Regions from separate parts of the Homo sapiens genome. Here region 2 is linked to region 1. Evidence: promoter capture Hi-C in 16 types of primary human blood cells and fetal thymus (Javierre and others, 2016). All regions are on one chromosome and are shown on one strand. The core of a region is centred on a gene start or on the middle of the fragment in contact, and the rest is flanking DNA. Distances in the headings are between cores, read along the strand shown.

Region 1 (7,179 bases), core at 1,278-3,777:
TTTACTCATTCTTTCCACTAAGGGAACAGGGCACCATCCTGGTTAGAACAGTGGCAGAACACCAGAGTGGTTAAGACCAATTCTCTTATGGAGCATGACATATCTGTTGAAATAACAAGTAGTAGAAAAATTTAGTAGTTCAGCAGTGATGTAAGAAGAATCTCTTTGAATGAGTAAACACAGGACTCATCCTAGCCACCAATCTCCAGCCAATAAGCACTTTTCAACTGTGTAACTATGAGCCAGTGACTACCTTTTCCTCAGTTTCTTCATTTGTAAAATAAGGATACTAAAAGTGACTCTTACAAGATTGCTGTATTAAATGAGTTAATACATATATAAAGTGCTTAAAATAGGGCCTAATCTATAAGAAGCCCTAAATACATGTTTGTTGCTATTGTAAATATTATGAACAAATACCTTTGATAAGGGTTTAAATGAATCAGCCTTGTTTAAAAGTCCATCTTACGCAGTTGGAGTTACTTATTCAAAATTAGGGCCTCTCACTGAGCTCTAAGCTTATCCTCTAGTGCAGATTTCAGGACCAGCTCTCTGGGATCCTCCCTCATTCTCTCCTTCTTTCTTAAAAATATATATTGCATAACTATTAGCACTGCAAAGCTCTAAGGAAAAATGATAACCCTATGTCCCCAATCTAGAGGAGCTTCCCGCACTCAAATTGGGGGAAGTTTTTTTTTTTTTTTTGAATAGATTCTTCCAGGCAACATAGGACCAGGGATCCAGCAGGCTTTTTTCTTGTCCTTAATGAGTAGCTCACAATCTTTATCCTTAGGAAACACAGAGCAAATGATATATTACAAATGAGTAGGCTATGTTTAAATATTTAAGAGATTACTATTTAATTTTAAAGAGTCTCAAACTCTTTAAAACTATAGATGAAAGGTCCTACTTCCAACTTTCTACATCAGAATACCTGAGGATGAGACTAGGCTTTTTTTTTTCCTTTTTCCAAATCACATATAATTCCCACATGCAATCTGAAAAAGCAACCAAAATGCAGAATCTTAGGTCCCACCCAGGTCTACAAACTAAGAATCTGCATTTAAACAAGACCTTCAGAAGATCTGTATAGACATTAAAAACGGGAAAGCACTGGCCTGTGGCAGTCTTTCTTTCTCAGGATGGTGGTAAACAGATCACCCCTATGTCAGAACCACCTGGGATGCTCCTTTTAAAAAGTATACTTTTGTATCCTACCATAGACTGAGTGAAACAGACTCTCTGGGTTGGAGTCCCTTGAAACTGCATTTCAAACAAACTTCTCTCCCTGACACTTGGGCAGTCTAAAGTTTGAGAGTTACCAGAGTAGCATTTAAAAGCACTATATGTTTTGTCATTTTCATGTATATGATCCCTTCATGAGGCTAAAATCACTGAGCAAGACATACCTAGAGTTATAAACCAATCAAACACTGCATTTGCACACACGGAGAGATATATACACACATGGCATTAGAAATAACTGCAAATAAACTGTCTTTAATACTAGATCAAAACTATCCAAGAAGGTTCCCCTGAGCATCTGCAATGAAATGCAGATTAACCAGTTAATTGTGTCAGAGGAGAGAGAGAGTAAATTATGTATAATGACATCATTACACCTCTTGTACTCTTGTCTAAACATTCCTTGCTTGTACTTTCTTGAAACATCATTAAAAATCCATTTGATTCTAATAAGTTACTTCCAATACAAGTAAAAGTACCTCAGTATTTATCAGATGTGAAAAGAAAATAATCAAATCATCAAAATATGTTATTATTCCTCTTCTTCATAGTGATAGTCTTTACTAATATTTACTAAAGGTGAATCTCCCTTCAAATACCAAGCTGAAAGGCATTACTCTGGTCATGTGGTTCCATAAAAGAGGCAGTCAATCTTTTGGATATTTAGAAAATCCAATTGAGTACAATTTTCTCTTTTTCTCTGAGTGTTTGTCATGAGAAAAGCACAACTCAAACTCGATTTTGTCCAAATTATCCTTGCAAACATCCAGATACTATGAAATGTGTATTATATTCATCTCAACTTAGATCTAGCTAATATTTTAGAATTACAAAATACTTTGTCTTAAACTATTAAGAATATCAACAAGAATAACACATAGGACTTTATTTTTTCTGACTTAATGCTCCCCCAGGGAGTTGAACAGACAAAACAGAAATATATTAACAGGGATAGAAAATTGCATCTGAAAAGCATGAGTAACTTTTAACATCTTTGGAACTCTGCTTTCAGAAAGGTGATGTACCTCAGAGTATAGGATTCCCATGCTGGTCCTTCACAGGCTTACTTCACCTCTACAGCTCCTTGAATCTTCTGGAGGTATTTCTGATGAATATCAAAATCCTTCCTGGCTGAGAGGAAAGTCCCTAGAAGTCCAAGCTGGTGGCAAGCTCCAGGAGTGCTTTTCTAGCAAACACCTGTCAGTGCTTTTCCAGCAGCTCAGGCAGCAGCACACCTTCCAGAGAGCCCAGCCCAATGAAACAAAGGCACTGGTGTCATGTGTAACGACCCAAGCCTGTATCATCTAATGTTACAACCCTGAGGAGCCGGTTTCTGAGTCATATTTGCTCTGCCAGTGGTAACATGCAGGAAAGAAGGAAGCAAAGTTAAGGGAGGAAGAAAAGTTCTTACATTGGCAGGAAGGACTCACGGTTCAAACCAAGATACTGTATTTCAGACATTTCGTAATCAAAATCTGGTTTTCAGTGGCCATTGAGAAAGGCTAGAGACCAACAAACTTACTTGTGAGAGCCACACGTGTCTGGCAAAGAACTTGAAAAATAATCTTCAAAATTCTCAGCCTAACAAGTAACGCTTTTCCAGCTATTTATGCAGTTTTGTAAACTAATAAATTTACTAACATAATAAATCTTAAGTTGTTTTAAATATTCCAATACTATTCACACATTTAGCCAAATTACTTTATAATATTCAATTTAAAAATCATAAGTCTAAAATCAAATACTCTGTTATGCATTTTAAATTGCATCATCAATTTATTTATCAAACATGCTAGTATGCCCAATCTCTTAAATATTGTAAACATTTTATATGCTATATATGATATCATTCACACATTTTCCTTGAACTGAATACAATCACATCAAACTTTCCCAGAATTGAAACACTCGACCGTCCACACACCCATTATAACCATGGGACCAGCCCAAATGGGCCGTACTTTGTTGATAACAAATGTCAATTTACTCTGTAGATATAACAGAGCCAAAAACTGTAAGTCATTTAGCCCAGGCATGCACAATAAAAATGTTTTTGCCTCTAACAGAACCTAGAACAAATGATCCCTCCCCTGGGAACCAAGAAGACAAGGACATGACGGGAACCTAAATGCAGGACCTCTTTCAGAAGCTAGGGGCTCATTGGCCCAAAAGATCCAGGGCTGAAATCTGCCTCAACATACCTTACCTTTAGTGGTCAAATTTGAAGCCCTTCAATCAGTCCCTGCCAAACCAACATTCCTAAATCCTTTCCCTCACCCTCTAAGCCATACATTTTCTCAGATTCCAAACTGGGGAGGCAGATTTGAGCCCACCTCCTGTCTCCTTGCTGACCTGTCTTGCAATAAAGTTTTTCTTTCCTCAAAACCCAGTGTCCAGATATTGGCTTCTGTGAGCAGGGGGCAGCAAGCCTATTTGCTCAATAATATCATGGAAGAAATAGTTCAACCATCTCAAACCAATTGATGTGATTTTCCCAATCAGTTGAGGCTCCTTAGTGGCCAGAAACTAGTGACCAGGATACTAGGCCTGTGCTTATAAATATTCAGGGAAATTCTTCTTACTCCACTGGTGGATATACTGAGCTATTTTTATAATTATTTCAAAGATTTTATGTTTCACTATGCAGTTGACATCGAGGCCAGCCTCTCTGGAGTTTAAGAATTAGCTAATTCTTCCGTTGGAGGAGAGGGAAGTCTGCAATACCCACTAAAATTGCAGCTGACTTCCTCTTTGGCTTGGTTTGATTTTGTATTTCTGTAGACTCTTAAGACATTTAAGTGTCTTCCCATTGACTTAGAAAAACATTAATGGTATATCCATTGGGTACTTCACTCTGTTATGCAATATTTTGTAACCTCTGGTAGCCTCTTTTGTAACCTCTTTCAACTAATTTGTGTGGACAGAACTCTTCACTGTCATTGCTTCTCTCCTAAGGTTGCTGCTAGCTTTCTTCTTCAAGCTCTTTCCTCCCTGACTGAGCTCTAAATGTTTCTTTAACTTTCAATCAGGATCAAAACTCATTTTATTAGATTCTGCATCTCTTGACAACATCTGGTTCTAAAGGAACAGTACTCATTATAATTGCAAATGATGTAGGGTTAGCTCAAAAAACAAACCAATGAAAAAAGCAGTTGACTCATTGTTATTTGTAAAACACTTGGATTTAACTCTAGGCCATTGGGTCTCAACCAGGGGTTATCTCGCCCCCAGATAGACTGCAGATTTAGCAACGAAAAAGATAAGATGTTCAGTTAAATTTGAATTTCAGATAAATTTCTGAAATGTCATATGGGACATACATACACTAAAAAATTATGTTGCTTAATGGAGAACGTCGTTTTATTGGAAACTAAAGACATTTGGCAATGTCTGGAGACATTTTTGGTGGTCACAACTAGGAGTGGGAGCATGGTACTCTAATGTGGGGAGCAGAGGCCAGGGAAGCTGCTAATCATCCTACAGTGCACAGGACAGCCTCTCAGAGCAAAGAATTACCCAGCTCAGAAGAGTGCTAATGTAGAGAAACTCTAGTCTAAGCCAAAAGGAGAATTAAAGGTGAAGGAAGAGGACTTCGTAAACTATAGTGTCAAATTGGAATACGGAGGCATATTGTCAGAATGAAGTTGGATAAACAGATATATTTTTAAGTGTTTAGGGTTCTTCCTCTGGCAATTTTGAGCCTATAATTACAAAGACAGGTAAAGAAAAGAAGTTCCAGAAAACAGCTTTCACAGGTAAATGTCTTCTGTCAAGAAATAACACTGTCAAGAAGACAAATGTCTTCTGTCAAGAAATAAACCTAGTGTTTAATCTGAATTAAACACTAGGGACTTAAAATTAGTGGCATCCTTTGATCCTGGCTGTAAATGCAGCCAACCTCCACTGACCAGCAGCCAACTGTCTGTGAGAGATGAGTCTCTTGTAAGGTGTATCCCAAAGACTTCCCCCCAAGAGGGGTTCAGTAGAGCATAACAAAGAAGTATAGTCCACAGAAACTCAGTTTTACGCTGATATCTTAATCCTTCAACATTATCTAACATTGTCCAACATTGACATTAGCAGTGGAAGTTATCTGAGTCACACGGCACCAAAATATGTCACCAGCCAGCAGTGAATCTGTGTGGGTTTGCAGCAAACTCAATTCTTGCCTTCTCAGAAGAAAGAATTCAACTGGGGGCCATAGGATGGAAGAAGAGACCAAGGCAAGTTTTAGAGCAGGAGCGACAGTTTATTAAAAAGCTTTAGAGCAGGAATAAACAAAGTAAAGTACATTTGGAAGAGGACCAAGTGGGCAACTTGAAAGACAAGTGTGCAGTTTGACTTTTGACTCGGGGTTTTTATACGTTGGCATACTTCCAGGGTCCTGCATTCCTTCTCCCCTGATTCTGCCCTTTGGTGGGCTGTCCACATGTGCAGTGGCCCACCAGGATTTGGGAGGGGAGCATGCACAGTGTGTTTACTGGAGTTGTATGCATGCTTACTTGAAGCACTCTTCTCTTACCAGCTGAATGTCCCTAGAAGGTAATATACCAGTTAAACTCTGCCATTCTGCCTCTTAATGTGCATGCTTGAACCCACTCGCCCAACTCCTGAGATCTTATCAGGAAGCTGCTGATCACCAGTTTCAAGTTTTTTCTGTCTATTGGGAGACTGCCTTTCCCTGGCACTGGCTGTGACCAATTGTTATTTTATATATATATATATATATATATATATATATATAATTTTTTTTTTTTTGAGATGGAGTCTTGCTCTGTTGCCCAGGCTGGAGTGCAGTGGTACAATCACAGCTCATTACAACCTCCACCTCCCAGGTTCAAGCGATTCTCCTGCCTCAGCTTCCAGAGTCGCTGGGATTACAGACACCTGCCACCTGTATTTTTGTATTTTTAGTAGAGACGGGGTTTCACCATGTTGGCCAGGCTGGTCTCAAACTCCTGACCTGAGGTGATCTGCCCACCTCGACCTCCTAAAGTGCTGGAATTGCAAGCATGAGCCACCACGCCTGGCCCTCAACTATTATTTTAGAGAGACGGTTAACAACCTCCTTACTATCACCTGATGTTCACCTGACATTCCTGGTGGGTGGGGGGAGCCCTCTCCTACTCTGCTCATGTCTGACTAGCTACTTACTGTAAAATTGGCTCCCATTGGAGAGATTTGAGTAGAGGAGTGTTGTAATCAGAATTTTATTTATATAATAAAGCTCACTCTGGCTGTTGTACAGAGAGTGGATCTGAGGCAGGAAAAAAGAAACAGCAACTAGTTAGGAGGTTATTGCATTAGGTCAGCTGCATGATAATAGTTACCTGGGGCAGAAGAGCAGCAGTGTGGATAGAGAGAATAGGATAAACTCTAGAGTTTAGGAGGTAGAAATAACAGACTTTGCCAACTATGAGTTATTAAGCTATCTCCTAGCATTGAACACACTTTTCTATGTTTGGTTCTTCAATGCCTACCCTGGCATTCTGCAAGCTAGCTTTTTTTTTTTCCTACTGGTATGTGGAGACAAAATTAACTTCATCTTGGATGCTAATCCACCATGTTGACTTCTCATTAACCCCAGTCCCATAAATGCCTTCGGATTCCTACTTTATTTACTGTCCTTAGTGTAAGAACACATACTTACTGTAAATCCTGCCTTTAGACCAAAGCAAACTTGATGTTATCACACAAATATAGGTTATGATGCACACAGCACTCTTGCCTGTTCTGGGGGGTTGTCTTTAATTGTCTCTATAGAGCATGTATCCCCTTTCCTTATGATATATAAGCCCGGGGTCTGGGGTGTATTGGTGTGGAGATCTATTTGTCTTGCTACTGCAGGCCACACTTCTGTCTGTAAGTTCCCCCAATAAATTACCCTTTATCAAAAAACTGATTTTGTCTGCCTTATTATTTGGTTTCTTGGCT
Region 2 (7,026 bases), core at 3,127-5,626, 980 kb before region 1:
TAGTGCCATAATATACCTTATAAGGCGTTCTTACTAGATCTTTGTTATATTTACCTTTTTCTCTCCCTATGGGGTGATGTAGGATAGTGCTTGAAATTTGCACTTCAGTAGCATTTAATGTTCAGTGCTCTTGTCATAAACATAGAATGGATATTGAGTAGTTTCTGATCCCAGATGGTAATGTGTAGGTTCAAGGGTATTGTGTGTAGCAAGTGAAGATTGCAGAAATAAAACTTCAGTTCATGCTTGAAATTTAAGTATTGTTGTGATGCCAGAATTGCTGCTCACCGTTTTTAGGTTTCAGGTCCTCTGACACCTTTTGGTATCGTTAATTTTACTGATTTGTGTAGAATGTCAGTTGTATTTTACCAGCTAATATCTAGAAATGCTGGCAAGAGGGGTTTACTCCAGCTTTAGATTGTAGGTATGTTAGCTTTTTTCATACAGTGTATTAAATTTACTGAGTCAGCTTGCTGAATAAGACAGAAGCCCAAGAATTTTAACAGTGTGTAGCTTTAGTTGTCTAAAAGTTAGGCCTTCGGGCTTCAAAAGTTAGTGGTCATCGAAAAGCATTAATCTTTGCAGTTTCAGGTACAACACATTGGTTTTGATTAGGGATGGGGATGGGGCCCTCTTTTTGCAGAATGGGGAAAGTATTGACAGGAATTGAGAGCTATTGGTAGGCCAGTGTATAAGGTATGTGAAAACAGAATTAAGTTATTGGTCTGAAGTGACTGAAGCATTTAGGCTCTATCAAGGCCTAAAATTTGGTAATATGAGTTTGGTAATGCGAATTGTGGCAGTGGACAATATTTAGTTAAAATTATGTAATTGCATAAGTACTAGCACAGTATTTTTAATAAAAGTTATTTCTTAGCAAATGTCAGTTGCATTTTGTCTAAAGGTAGAGTGACACTACAGTGTCTATATGTCCTGCTAAAAATTGTGGGGAATATTTTTTTTTAAGACAGCGTTTATATCGGGAGAGGTTTTATTCCGTTGGATTATGTTAGCTGCATATAAATGTGCACAGTTAATTTTGCCCAAGTTTTTGTTTTGAAATGAATGTAAAACTTACTGAAGAAGTAGCTTCCCAAAATTTAGTTTTCTGTTAAGCCAAAAATATTATTTTAAAAGAGTATTTGCAAATTTTGAAGTTGACATTAATTGAGAATGTTACTAAGGCTAAACTGGACCCGCTTGCCCAGAAGATAATTATGGAAAAATTCTTTTGTGACTTCCAAAGCAGTCTACTATTAGCATGAATTACTGACAGTCATCCAAATATATAGGAACAAAAAATTAAATGTTTATGTAACTTTGAAAAAAAAGCCTTTGAAGAAAATAATTGAATGCTGTCTGGGAGACAGATTTCTTTCAGCACTTAAAGTACATAACACACTACTTTTACTTTTCCCACTTGATTTTAAATTATCAGGGTTATTAAGACCTTAAAATTATTTTACCAGGTTTTTACATGTGAGCTGTGACATGACTGGCATTTTCTTTGATTTCAGCGTATGTTGGTCTCTACACATGAAATTTGTGTGACTTAAAACTTTCTCTAAAACTGTACTTTTAGTTATGATATGCATAGAAAGCAGTATCAAATATTGCGTCAAATGACTAATAACACTTAATTTCTAGAGTTGTGGTTTTATTGAGCCAAAAGTTGATATGAAAAAAAGTCAGTAAGGAAAGTCAGTGAAGTGCTTGCTTTTTTGATAATTGCACTCCCAATAATTTTGATATTCCAACGTACTTGGTTTGCTTGTTTTCACGTTAATGTTTTCTGTTTATTGGAGTGGGAAGGCATTAAAATTGTCATTGAAGACTTTGTCTTTGACATGTTGTAGTATTTATTTCAGTAACTAACCTGTGAAAAGTTAAATTCCTTTATGAAAGTAGTGATTGGAGTATTTTTATCTGATAAAGAAAGATTAATAATGAAGCCATTTCTCCGAGGAAAATTGAGGACAATAATTCAGTTTTAAAATATTATCGCAAAATTAAATTATTCTAAAAATTTGTTAGTAGGGTTATATGCTTAATATTAGTCTGAAATATAGTGCTGAATTTGAGACTATAGAAAAATTAAGTGTATTTAGGGTATGTGGAAACGTTAGGCTTCTGTTGTATTTTTATTGTTTGGTAGATTTGCCTCTTTTCAAATAAATGTTCACAGGGAATACTTTTAACTTGTAGAGAGTACAGTGACTATTGAAGTTACCTAAATTACCTCAAGGTAAGTGATTACTGAAATTAATCATGAGGGTTTTAAAAAGTATTCTATTCACAACATTTATTTTACATTGTTTTGTATCTGCTAAGTTATATTTCCTGAAAAACATGACTGGACCACCTAATTGCTGTATGATAACTTACAAACTTCATTTTTCATAGTGCTTATTCAAGTGTAAAGCACAACTGAAAGGAGTAATGTACAGTTTATATGAGGAAAAAGGAATTTTATTGCTGCCAGTGTAAAAGTTTGCACAGCAGTATAGTCATCAATGCAGATTTACATTGCTTATAATATACTAAGTAAATACTAAATGATTAAAGATAATAAAATATGGTGAGGTATAACCACCTTCATTTTAAACTTAGTTTTAGAAGATAGTAAAGAAAGATTCCTTTATTACCTTTTTAGAATTTTATTTTTAATAACATGGGAAAGGCAACTGGTGATATTTTAATTTTTGTATGGAACAGTGCATCTGCTTTCTCATAGCCACATAAAATACATAAACTTCTTAGTGTTATGAAATGGCTTACTTTTTGGAAGTGAAGAAGTCTTCAATTCTTATTTTCTAATGTTATTTTGAAATTTGCCTCCATTTGCTGTTTGTTCATTTGGTGATAGCGCAACACTTAAAAAAATATTTTAAGCCGCTTCTGAAGTAATCACTTCAGTGACTTTTAATGGAGGAGTATTTGTTATGGGAAATTCACTTCACAAAGTTTTAACATTAATTCACTTGAAGTAAACGTGCTATTTTTAAATTTTCATCTCAATCTTTTAAGTAAGACGAAAGCTTAGGAAATCACTTTTATTATTGATATTGTGTGTGACTTCAGAGTTTGTAAAGAGAATTGTAGAAGTGTTGCATGCATATGACAATTTTCTGCTTAATTGAAATGTGAGGCCTCTGCCATACTACAAGGATTTAGCTTCCAGAAAATGTAATATTAACATAGCTTAAGAAATGTATTTTTTTTTTTCTGTAGAAACCGTTGGGTTAAACAAACAGTTCAGAAGTTTTATTACATGGAACCCATTAGTTCTTAATCTTGTTACCTTTTTCTTCATTTTTTCTGTTAAACTTGATTTTCACAGTCAGCATTGAAGAATTCATCTTGTGGCCTGAATTCATTAAGAAAAGATGTTAGGATTTGTTCTGAAGATAGTGACTTAGGAAATTTGTGAGACTGGGGTCAGTCAGTTCTGTTTTACAATTGCTTTCTATTTGGTAGCTTTGAAATTAATTTAGTTGCTTATCAGAGAGAATAATGTTGAGGTTAGACTAACCTTAAATTGGTAAGGCTTTGCTGAGCAAACTGATAACTGTAAGTCTTTTATAGGGTGCATTACTGCCACATATACGTTCTTCCATAGGTGGTTAAAAGTATATTGGTCTGTGTTTGGTGATTCTCTTTGTACATATTGAGTATATGCATTCACTAATGTAAAATAATTTGCCAAGAAAGGTGAAATTAGTATATTGTACTTGACTATTCACCTTTCCCTTAGTTTTTTGAATTTTTTTCATTGGTTGCAGAGGAAGTATTAGCAATTTAATTCTTTTAAAATAATTTGCACTGGAATAAATAAGTATCGGCAAATATAAGAAGAGTAACATAATTTAAGGGTGAATTAATTTTATTTGGGAAGTTTTAGTTCTGTATAGTTAAGGCAGATTCTTCATTTGCAACAGTTGACATTGGGACATGTGTGAACATCTTCAAGGTATTAGGACATCTTCAAGGCATTACTTTTTGGCAGTGTTGAGAATTTTTTTTTTTTTTTTTTTTTTTTTGAGATGGAATCTCGCTCTATCGCCCAGTCTGGGGTGCAGTGGCAGGATCTCGGCTCACTGGAACCTCTGCCTCCCAGGTTCAGGCGATTCTCCTGCCTGAACCTCCCAAGCAGCTGGGATTATAGGTGCATGCCACCACGCCCAGATAGTTTTTGTACTTTTAGTAGAGATGGGGTTTTACCACCTTGGCCAGGCTGGTCTCAAACTCCAGACCTCAAGTGATCCGCCTGCCTCGGCCTCCCAAAATGCTGGGATTACAGGCGTGAGCCACTGCGCCTGGCCAGTGTTGAGAATATTGAGAGATGGATATTGTAGCTGTACCTGCCATCAAAAGAATTTTCTTGACCTCCACATAGTGTGAAAAAGAAGACTGTTTACACATTATATTTTAAGTAATTATACACATAATTATTATCAGTACTCACCACTTCAAATATGAACAGTGAATCTAACCAGTGTTTGATTTCTCTGTGTGTGTATGTGTATACAAAGTTAGCAAACCTTTTATCTTAATATTTATTAAAAAACGAATTTTTGTTTCTTTAAAGAAAAGACTACCTTAGAGAATATTGTTCTATAGTTTTTAAATATGGTCAGATCTATTTTAAATTATGTTAAAATTTTGAGTATTACGTTTATCTATACTTTTAAGCATATATACATTGTTTCATTTTAGATTTTAGGGAGGCAGTGTGGGCTCTGGAGCCAGACTGCTTGTTTTGTAATCCTGGATCTTCCATTTAGTAGCTGGATGACTTTGAGTAGGTTATTTAGATTTTCTCAATCTATTTTATCTGTAAAATGGGGATGATAATGGAACCTACCGCATACGTTTATCTTGAATAGTAAGTGAGATAATAATAAGTAATTTCATTTAGCATAGTACCTGCCACATTGTAAATACTTAAATGGTAGCTACTGCTCTGAAAAACTGTAATTTCAGGTTATGTATGTAGGGAAATTATTTGTATTTTCATTTATGGTGTATGATTGTAACTGAATTTCCTCAGTTTGGGCCATGTTAGGATTTTGTTTCAAGTTATAAGTGTTTTTAAAAATAAGGGTATTCCTTTAGGAAGTCTGGGTATGACATGTCTGTGATTTTGCTGGTTCATCACAAATGGGAAATAAATCTCTGCTAACTCAAACTGTTGACCAAAGTAAAATTAATTATGCCAATCAAAAACTATTTGCTTTAAAATATAAAAGGCAAAAACTTCCTATTAGCATAATGAAGTAGAATTTTTAAACTTTGTTATAATCTTAAATTTTCTTTAGTGTTGAAGATAGGTCAACTTAACTATCATACATTTTTATTCACATAAAGTAAACTCTGCCTCAAATGTAATAAACTTAATATGAGTTATGTAAACTTTGGTCAATAGAGGTATATTTTTTAGCATTTCCTTTTGAAAATTTCAGCCTTTTGAGGGAGTCTTGCAACTGAATGTCAAGTTACATTTATTACAATAAAATGGACACTTAATATAATCTGTAATGCATTAACATAATATGGGAACTTTTAAAGTATTCAGTCTCTGTATTATTGAGTCCTATTTCCACATTTGGCCAGGATTCTCAATATGATTTAGGCCCAAGACGTGGGAAGAAAGAAGTAAAGAACTAAAGGATTTTTTTCTTCATTTTTTTAATTGAATATGGGGAAAGATGGAATAAGCTTATCTGTCCAGTAAAGGCCATTATGTGTACATAGGGATTATTATTTTTCCCCCCCTTGGGCTGTACTGATTTCCCAGATGTACCACAGCACTCTTAGTAGTGAAGCACTTGACTTCTAGTGAGTGGATTTTTTGTGTGTGTGTTTTATATTGCAGAGTGAATACACTCTGTCTGATACTATGTGACTTTCTGATTATGTGATTTTTATGCATTTTATGTGTTTTGTAAACTAGCTGTATTTTTGGTCCATGTCTAGGTTGTAGAATTGAATTGTGCATTTTGGCATCTGAGCACAGCTGAGTTTTCTAAATCAATCTCTCTCCTTGCACCTAGTTTTTGCTTTAGATCACTACCTAAGACTTACTGTTGATTTAATATTAGAGCACTTAAGCATAGCTTTGACTTTTATTTCCTTTGATTTTTGTAGATTTTCAGGCTGAAGTACAATAAGGTTCTCTGTTCTTTACTAGTAATTGCAAAGATTGTATTCTGTGAATTTTATTTGTTTAATACTTTTGATCTTTTGAAGAGGATGTAATTATTTAAGGTATTATGAAATGCATTGTGATTTGAATTAGATACTCTTTGGAGATGGAGTTTTGCTGTTGTTGCCCAGGCTGGAGTGCAATGGTGTGATCTCGGCTCACCACAGCCTCCGCCTCCTGGGTTCAAGCAATTCTCTTGCCGCAGCCTCCCAAGTAGCTGGAATTACAGGCATGCGCCACCACGCCCGGCTAATTTTATATTTTTTTTTTCAGTAGAGATGGGGGGTTTCTCCATGTTGGTCAGGCTGGCCTCGAACTCTTGACCTCAGGTAATCTGCCTGTCTCAGCCTGCTAAAGTGCTGAGATTACAGGCATGAGCCACTGCGCCCGGCCTCAGATACTCTTTTAATTAGATGCGTTTAAAAATTTAACCCACCATTGCTGGCATGAATAGATGTATTTTTAGAGTGATTCATAAATATCGTATACATGTTTAAAGTTACAAACTTTTTGCTTATTTCAAAATGCAGGATTCTTTTCCATTTAAAATTCCCTCTCTTTGTGAGACTTCTTTTTGAGTATTCTGGTTACTCTAAACTGATTGGAGATGAAATTAGATAGAATTGAAAACTGTACTTTTAAAATGAAATTTTGGGGATGTCATTAAGCTTGATTTTTTAGGTTTTTTTTTTAGTGTGTATTATAAATTATTTTACACTGATTGTCAGCGATAAAATGGAATGCCTGGGATTTTTTAAAATTTATTTTATTCATTTTTATAAGGTAAAAACAGTGTTTTGCTAGGCTTAATTTGACCATGT

What was found. The method cuts DNA at HindIII sites, captures the fragments that hold promoters and counts their contacts. A CHiCAGO score of 5 or more calls a contact.
Region 2: a contact is called between a fragment that was not itself captured here and the fragment with the promoter of ANKRD22 in region 1, in 1 of 17 cell types (neutrophils). The highest score is 5.3, in neutrophils.

Annotation. Positions count from the first base shown.
Region 1 is chr10:88,849,317-88,856,495 of GRCh38, forward strand. It overlaps ANKRD22 (ankyrin repeat domain 22), which reads right to left and starts at 2,528. Exons shown (of 6, transcript NM_144590.3): 1 at 2,271-2,528. The coding sequence starts at 2,291. The HindIII fragment of the contact is 4,987 bases long and covers 517-5,503 here.
Region 2 is chr10:87,865,204-87,872,229 of GRCh38, forward strand. All of the region lies in intron 1 of PTEN (phosphatase and tensin homolog), which reads left to right. Among named protein-coding and RNA genes, the nearest start is that of PTEN, 5.1 kb to the left of the region's middle. The HindIII fragment of the contact is 2,680 bases long and covers 3,037-5,716 here.